Linked DNA regions of Homo sapiens: all the other regions are linked to region 1. Evidence: promoter capture Hi-C in human tissues and cell types (Jung and others, 2019). All regions are on one chromosome and are shown on one strand. Each heading gives the region's core, a stretch centred on a gene start or on the middle of the fragment in contact. The rest is flanking DNA. Distances are from core to core; before and after follow the strand shown.

Evidence for each region. Contacts are between HindIII fragments. The study calls those that stand out against the background at their distance.
Region 2: a contact is called between a fragment that was not itself captured here and the fragment with the promoter of CPA6 in region 1, in 3 of the 25 tissues and cell types used here (H1 embryonic stem cells, bladder and thymus).
Region 3: a fragment that was not itself captured here is called in contact with the fragment with the promoter of CPA6 in region 1 in 2 of the 25 tissues and cell types used here (H1 embryonic stem cells and dorsolateral prefrontal cortex).

Annotation. Positions count from the first base shown.
Region 1 is chr8:67,744,713-67,747,681 of GRCh38, reverse strand. It overlaps CPA6 (carboxypeptidase A6), which reads left to right and starts at 1,322. Exons shown (of 11, transcript NM_020361.5): 1 at 1,322-1,668. The coding sequence starts at 1,553. RefSeq lists an enhancer at 996-1,496. The HindIII fragment of the contact is 6,623 bases long and covers 648-2,969 here.
Region 2 is chr8:67,563,510-67,566,209 of GRCh38, reverse strand. The region is part of intron 2 of CPA6 (carboxypeptidase A6); the gene reads left to right. All of the region lies in intron 2 of LOC105375886 (a long non-coding RNA gene), which reads right to left. Among named protein-coding and RNA genes, the nearest start is that of CPA6, 180 kb to the left of the region's middle. The HindIII fragment of the contact is 4,828 bases long and covers 1-2,700 here.
Region 3 is chr8:67,544,763-67,547,523 of GRCh38, reverse strand. All of the region lies in intron 2 of CPA6 (carboxypeptidase A6), which reads left to right. Among named protein-coding and RNA genes, the nearest start is that of CPA6, 200 kb to the left of the region's middle. The HindIII fragment of the contact is 5,580 bases long and covers 1-2,761 here.

The DNA.
Region 1 (2,969 bases), core at 73-2,572:
TGCTTATTTAATAGGGCGAGGCACATCCCCTGTAATGGGTTTTGTGGCGTATTGGAATAGGAGCAAGTGGATGCAAATAATAATTTTAAAAAGCTTTCATCATCAACATGGGAAAAAAGAGAAGGAAATGGTTTTCTCCAAGGTTTGCTTGGAAGAAAAAGCAGACCTCATTCTAAAGTGAAGTCTTGCTACTCCAAGTGTGGCTGAAGAGCCAGTGGCACCAGCATCACCTGGAAGCTTCTTTAGAAATGCAGACTCGGCCAGGCGTGGTGGCTCACACCTGTAATCCCAGCACTTCGCAAGGCCGAGACAAGCAGATTGCCTGAGGTCACGAGTTCAAGACCAGCCTGACCGACATGGGGAAACCTCGTCTCTACTAAAAATACAAAAATTAGCTGGGCGTGGTGGTAGGCACCTGTAATCCGAGCTACTCAGGAGGCTGAGGCAGGAGAATCGCTTGAACCTGGGAGGCGGAGGTTGCAGTGAGCCGAGATGGGGACTTGGCACTCCATCCAGCCTGGGCAACAAGAGCGAAACTCTGTCTCAAAAAAGAAAAATAAAAACTCTTAGGCCCCTGTTCCAACCTACGTCAGAGCTGCAGTTTAATGAGATCCCCAGGTGACTTCTATGCATGTGGAGCTCTGAGAAGCCCTGCTCCAGACCAGCATGGTGGTTGAATATTGGAATCACCTAAGGAGCTTTTTAAACCACTGATCCCACCACCACGGTTTCTATTTTCAAGGTCTGGCTCCCTAAATGATTCCAAATGTACAGCCAAGGTGGCAAAGCACTCGAAGGCCTCCTATTCCCCACGAGAACCTCTGAAACAGCAGCAGGTCTGGGTGCTGCTGATGCAGAATGAGTACCAAGATCTCCCTGAAGCCCAATAAAGCCACTGACCACTCCTGTAAGTCAGGAGCAGTGAACTGAAGCCAGCTGTTCGGATCTGGGTGCTATAGGTACCCCCGTGCACGTTCTCATCATGATTGTTCATTGTGCATTTCATTAGGTGGAATCCGTTTAGGAATCTGTCATGGGAGATCAAAAAAACATTAAGCTTGGAATAATCCATGTCTGCTTGTTTAGCCCATCAGACAAATCATTTGCAATTAGGTAGGATCCTCATGCTGAAGAAGATAGAGAAAGAAAGCTTGCACAGAAAAGTTAGAGGCCTCAAGTTGGGAAAGCAAACAAACCAAAAGCAGAGAGGAGTCACCCAAAGGAAGCAGCACCCAGTGAACCCCTGCCGTGAGTCAGCACGAGGGAGGCCCAGCCCTTTCTAGGGGAGCCTGATTAAAGATCAGGCTCAGCTGCTGCTGCTGCTGCTGCTGCTTGTCCCAAGACCAAGTCGTAATAGCAACTTCCCTTCCTCAGCTGCCTGAACTTTTTTTTTCCCTTGTAGCTGGAGAGAAGTGTCACATTTTGCTCACTCTCAACCTTCCTCGCCCACCCCCTTCCCGGAGAACCTGTGCGGTGTGTAGAGGGTGCTGTGAGCCACCTCCAGCCTCGGGTGGCTGCTTAAGTAACTTTCAACTCCTCTCTTCTTAACACTATGAAGTGTCTCGGGAAGCGCAGGGGCCAGGCAGCTGCTTTCCTGCCTCTTTGCTGGCTCTTTTTGAAGATTCTGCAACCGGGGCACAGCCACCTTTATAACAACCGCTATGCTGGGTAAGTGGAGCGACATTCATGCCCTACACAGCTTTGATTTGGATCTGGGGGCTGGTTTGCTCCAGAGTGTGCCTCACTTTTTCTGATTTGGGGGTCTCTGAGTGAATCTGCACACTTTCACGGTCCTCTATATAAAATGTACTCACAGCTCTCTGCTCTTGGCTTTAGCTCACTGAGAGAATGTGGTGGGCTCCAACCTGGCTTTTTATACTTTTTATCATGTGCCAACCTTAGCTGTGGACCCAGGGTTGAATGGGATTCTGTCTTTGGAGTAGCCATGGTCAGTATTTACAGTGTTTGCCTTGGTTGATGCTTGGGGATGCTGTTGTCCTACATGATTTATGACCTGAAAACTAAGCCTTTCTTTACAATTGTATGTAGGAGCGGTGGGTTGAAATTCATCAGTGATTAAGAACTGAGTGTGATTTTTTTTTTGTCTGTGCTTATTAGTCTGTAGAGTGGTTATTAGATTTTTAAATATGAGCAATGCAAATGATTCAACTCAAAATAAGCAGAATAAAAGTAGTCAACTGTAAAATTATGGATAGTTTTTCTGAAGGAAAAACATAGGAGTAAAACAATCAGTTTTGTCCCCCCTCCGTAGGTAAGCATGCTTTCTATATGCCTTTCTTCAGGAGGCAGAGGGCTGGAAGCCGTGTGTTACTATGCACATTCTTATTATCCTGAAGGCTTGCTGTGGTATAGACAGCATGTGATTTGCTCACATATGCAGGGGGTCGTTCTTAGAATCTGGAAATTATGGCTTGCCTGCACTTTAGATCTGGAAAAACCTTAAATACTTCCTCTAGTTCAATTCCTTTTTACAGAGGAGTAAACTCAGTGTCTTACATATTTTTAAATAGGCTACTATCATTCAATAATCACCACCTGAGAAAAGTTTTCATGTAGATCTGGATCATGACAAGGTAGTGTACAGTGTCTTAAAACCAAGTTGTTCTTTTTAGAAATAGTGTAAAAGAGAATTTGTAAGTGTGACCCTGGAAAAGAGAATTGTATTTCTCTTTCTCTCCCAAAGAATCTTGGCACTGCCTTTAGGGTTCCTCTGAATACAGTGCTTACAGAGGAAATTTTGGAAACATGTCCTCAGTTTTAGGGGAGGCAGGATGAGATGGAGGTGTTGGCTGAGGTAGGGGCTATAGATGGCAATATGATCACGGATTTTTCCACCCCAGTATTTCTGGGAGGAACGGAAAGGAGTTAACATCCCAGGGCTGCCTTTTGGCCTGGACATACAAGATCTCAACTTTACCTCCGATAATTTGTGACCCCTTTAGAGATCT
Region 2 (2,700 bases), core at 181-2,680, 180 kb after region 1:
TTCTTCTGCAGGAAAACTAATGACTAATACTATTGAAACGACAATGGGAAGAGAGGAGAATGCCAAACAAAAGAACACTGGAGAATTGGCTATTATCTCCTCTGAGACTTGAGCTATTTATCCAGAGGTGAGGATTTGCTTTTGCCTTGGAAGCCCCTTCAGAAACCATTTGAGTGTCTGGCAAAGAAATGAAAATCATGAATCAGCTGTAACCATTTAGGAGTGAAATTCTCTCTGAAAATTTAATTTGGTCTTGGCAACAGAAAGGATGTTTCCCTTGTCATGGTGACCCTTGTTATCCAAGTATTTGCAGGAGGCATTCTCCAAAGTGGCATACGAGGAGTCTGATATTTTTTTGAAAGCTTTTTCAAAGTGAAGATGACATCTCAGAGAGATCTCATCTTCCTGAGAGTCAAGGTGCTGAGACAAACTGACATTACAAATAAAACCACATTTCAGAGTAGAAATTGATCCATACCAACTAATGACCTGCTCATTCTATTTTCTCTTGGGAAAAAAACTAAACAGTTTGGCAAGGAACTATCCTTGACTATGCAGTCCTAAAGGTCTTTTTCAAGGTAGTTTATCCTGTAAGAAGTGAAAGAAGTGGTATTTTGTGATGGTGATTTGGCTGCACGTCCATTGCCTGCTCTGTTGTTCTGTGTCTGTAGTGACTTGTGCTAGTCATGCACCTCAGACAGTGCAAGGTGCTTCCTTTGATCTATCATGTCAGCAGTGGGAGAGGTCCTTAGCCTAACAGAGGTCTGACTAAAAGAACAGCCTTCAAAGTGAGTGTCATTTTCAGAAATAACCATGCTCTGCCAGATCTGTATGGGGTTTTTTAATCGCATGCTGCTGACAGAACGTTTCTTGTCATTTTTGTTTTTCTGCGTCCCATTATCCTCTTTTTCTTTCTCCTTTGAAGTATTTACAGACAGTCTCAATCTCTACAACTGGGTTTTGAGGAGGATTCTGCAGCAGTTTACAACATACCTAACAACAGAGCAAGATCCTAAAAAACAACAACAAAAAAAAAAAAGAAAGAAAAAGAAAAACGCTGTGGCATAGTCCCAATTCTTGCTCTCTCATTGCCTCCCACCTGCTCTCCATTATCCAATATATTTGTTTTCGGGTCATGCTGATTTAGATAGCCATCTCTAGCTTTAATTCAGATGGCGTAACTGATCCGACCACATGTTACATACTAAATGATCTAGAAGACCACGCTGCGGTTCTCAGTTCATCTTTCAGTAAGCATGTTTTGACATTGAGTCAAATAATCCTATGAAAATCCTTTCATAAGGATTATTTGTCATAACGATAGTGTTATCTTTTGTTGTTTGCAGCTGAATGTTTTGATCATTGTTTAATTGGGATAGACATATTGTCACATTACAGATCATTTTACATAAAAAGAAACCACAGAAATCTATCAGCAATATTAATCCCTAATTAAAATGCATTGACATCATACTTAATGTATGAAAAGAGCTGAATTAAGCCTTTTTAAATTAGAAAATTCACTTTAGGCAGAAATAGTGGCTGGAAACATAGACATTTTTCTCTTCTAGTGGACAACGATGAGTATAATTTTACTGGTATGACAGCTACAAGAACATTCTGTGCCTTTGATTCAGCTCTGTACTGCTCTTCCTATGACCTTGAGAACTCACTTGTATAAGAATTCAGTTTTGTAAAAGGATATATTCTTGAGTCACAAGTAGGAGGCCTGAATTAAATAAGCTAACACCTTAGATGTAGTTCTCTATATCCAAAACATAAAAAAAAAAAAAAGAACACTTTTAATCGTCGCTGCTCAGCTTGCATCCCAGAGAAAGAAATAGAAGCACAGGCTGCCAAAAAGAAACCCCAAACAAACAAACAAAAAAAGCTTTAGGAGCATCACAGGCAGAGACTAGAGAGAAAAATCTGGGTTTTACCACTATAGACCTCTCCAGGAAATGGCAAACTTTAATCCTAGAACCAGAGACCAGTTGCCTAGTGCTTTCTGTTTCCTATTCATGGATTTTGTCTTGCCAACAAGATGATAAACTCTTCTGGGGCAGTGATGTCATTTTTGCAATGCTAAGCACCTATCATGTGGCAGGTGCCCTTCCACATCCTGGATATACAGCTGTGAACAATTTATGCAAAGTCCCTTCCCCAGGACCTCCTAACATCCATTCAGTGGAAGTATATTAGGACCAGTATATAGCACTGTGAAATGTTCTTCCATATTGAAACCTTTGAAGAGGCAACTTATCAATGAGCTACACGTACCCCAAAATATGGAATAGACTTGCAGCCTAAGATGACTGCTTCAGTCATGGGAGTGAGGGAAGGTGGATAAATAATTCTAACTGTGACTCATAGAATGTGGTAGAAATCAGTAAAATTAGTATCAAGGACAGCCTTGAAGGACATGGACTAAACATGCAGATTTGCAGATTTAAAGAGAAAGCATGAGAAAAGAAGTTGGAGGGAAGTGGCCTTCCTAGGGGAAAGGAGTGAGATTTTAAGGCTATACAATCTCAGATCTTTTTGTATCAATCAATCGTCCCTGAGCCCCACAGCCTACTTTTGTGTAAAGGTAGTCAGAAGGAGCTGGATATGAGATTCCTTCTCCCTACCCAAACTCCAGATGGGTTGTTCCAACAGCAGGTTTCCCAGCTGAGGCCTCTTAAAGAATGACCTCCCTGA
Region 3 (2,761 bases), core at 171-2,670, 200 kb after region 1:
CCTGTCTAAAAAAAAAAAAAAAAGACTATAATTCATTACTTGTTAATAGTGTAGAAAGTTAAAATTTTATACTATGTTTATCTTAGTCTTTTTTCACTTTTATATATTTAAGCATCTACCATGTACCAGGAATATGCTTAGAGTGAATCAGGTATAGTTCATTTAAAACTTGGCCTTCGGCCGGGCACAGTGGCTCATGCCTATAATCCCAGCACTTTGGGAGGCCGAGGCGGGCGGATCACCAGGTCAGGAGATCGAGACCATCCTGGCTAACACAGTGAAACCCTGTATCTACTAAAAATACAAAAATTTAGCCGGGCGTGGTGGCGGGCGCCTGTAGTCTCAGCTACTCGGGAGGCTGAGGCAGGAGAATGGCATGAACCCAGGAGGCAGAGCTTGCAGTGAGCCGTGATGGCGCCACTGCACTCCAGCCTGGGTGACAGAGCGAGACTCCATCTCACAAAAAAAATAAATAAAATAAAAAATAAACTTGGCCTTCAGCATCACCTGGGATTTTGTTAAAAACGTAAATTCAGCTGGGTGCAGTGGCTCACACCTGTAGTTCCAGTGACTTGGAAGGCTGAGGCAGAAGAATTGCTTGTGCCCAGGAGTTGGAGGCCACCGTGAGCTGTAATGTGCTACTGCACTCTAGCCTGGGCAACAGAGCAAGACTCTGTCTCAGAAAAAAGATAAAGTAAATCCTCAAGCTAAGCATGGTGGCACACACCTGTAGTCTCTGCTACTTGGAAGGCTGAGGTGAGAGGATTTCTTGAGCCCAAGTTTGAGGCCAGCCTGGGCAACACAGAGAGACACCCATCTCTAAAAATAAATAAATAAGTGTAAATTCCTAGACTCCACCCCTGGTTTACTGAATCAAGAACTCTGGACATGGGGCCCAGCAATCAGTGGTTTAACAAGCTCTTCAAGCTAATCCTGATGTACCTTAAGGTTTAGAAACAGTGGTATACAAGAAACAAAAGCAGTTACATGCGATGTTGAAAGTGCCATAATAAAGATGTCTACAAAGACTATGGGAAAAGGAAGAAACAGCAAATAACTGTCTGGAAAAATTAAGGAAGGCTATACAGAAGAGGTAACATTTGAACCAACCTTGAGGGACAGTAGAGTTTTATTCTTTAACAACAAATCTTTAATGAGCACATGCTATCCTAGTCACTCGGCCAGACTGAGAAAGCTTAATAAACAATCATTTCATAAAACTCACTGAGCAATAATTCAGGGGCAGATTTACCAGGAAGCTCACCAAGCTGAAGCTTCAGGTTCCTACAATTGCCTGGGGCCCTTCCAATCCCGTTTATATTTTTGTAATCATAATTGTGTACTCTTTTTCTTACATTAGACCCCACATTGTATAAGCCTCAGGTTCCCACAAAACCTGAAACCACCTCGCTCTTGACATGTTTTGGGGTGGGAGGGATATAGTAAGGAAGCAAGCAAGACCTTCCAGCAAAGAAACCCATCCTGCCAGGGGATGGAGGCAGAGGGGGATGAGTCTGTCTGTGTGACTGGGAGAGGAGATGATGAAAAGGTGCATGACCAGAGAGCTCAGATGTGCTGTCCAGGAGTTTGGACTTTATCTTCTACTCGATGGATGACAGAGATTTTTCAGTAGGTGGCTGCATTTTAGAAAGATAACAGTAGGCCAGGCGAGGTAGTTCACGCCTGTAATCCCAGCACTTTGGGAGGCCGAGGTGGGCGGATCACCTAATGTCAGGAATTCAAGACCAGACTAACCAACATGGAGAAACCCTGTCTCTACTAAAAATACAAAAATTAGCTGGGCGTGGTGGCACATGCCTGTTCTCCCAGCTACTTGGGAAGCTGAGGCAGAATTGCTTGAACCCAGGGGGTGGAGTGCAGTGAGCCGAGATCACGCCATTGTACTCCAGCCTGTGTAACAAGAGCAAAACTCCATCTCAAAAAAAAAAAAAAAAAAAAAGTAACAGTAGCAACTGTGGAAAGAAACAGATTAATGAAAGACTAAAGCCAGGGACATGAGTCAGCAGCATAATGTAAGAGACCAGGAAGAAAACATTCAAGGTGTAGGTTCAGGCAATGGGGCTGAAGGTGAGGGACATTTCAGAGACAGAATCTACCTGAGAACCAATTGGAAGGTAGACCAGGAAGTAGCATTAAAAGTGGCCGTTAGATTTATAGTTTGGGTGCATTATAATGTGGATAACAAATCTCTTGACTCAAAGAAAAATATGGGAGGAGCATTGGGGTTTATGGAGAAATTAATGAGCTGTATTCTGGATAAGGTGAATTTTTCTACATTATTCTTCTGTCATTCTGAAAACATATATATGAAATTCTAATTTAACTACTTTTTGAAAAGAGCTGCTACACATTTGAAAGAAAAATCACTTCTACATAACCTGGTGCTTTATAATTATAAAATATCATTATTCCAAAAATCCTTATACTCTATAGTCATTAATTAAATTAAAATTTCTTTCTAAAAATATAAAATGGAATTTAAGTATACAGGCAAAAGTCTTTCTTGTTGATAAATTATGAATCAAACAGGCTTTAAAATAATTTGGCCTACTCTTTGATGGCCCCCCAAAAAAATGGATCTAAAATATCTGCAAATAGCTTCTAGGATGAAAAAGGGCAGAAGACTCCCCATGTATATCATTAAGTGAAAGGCAGCTGCGTGGGTAAGAAGGGGGAGTCGCAGTAAGCTCTGCTTGCATCCTGGTGGAAGTTGGGGATTAAGGGAAGAAAGTTTAAGTTG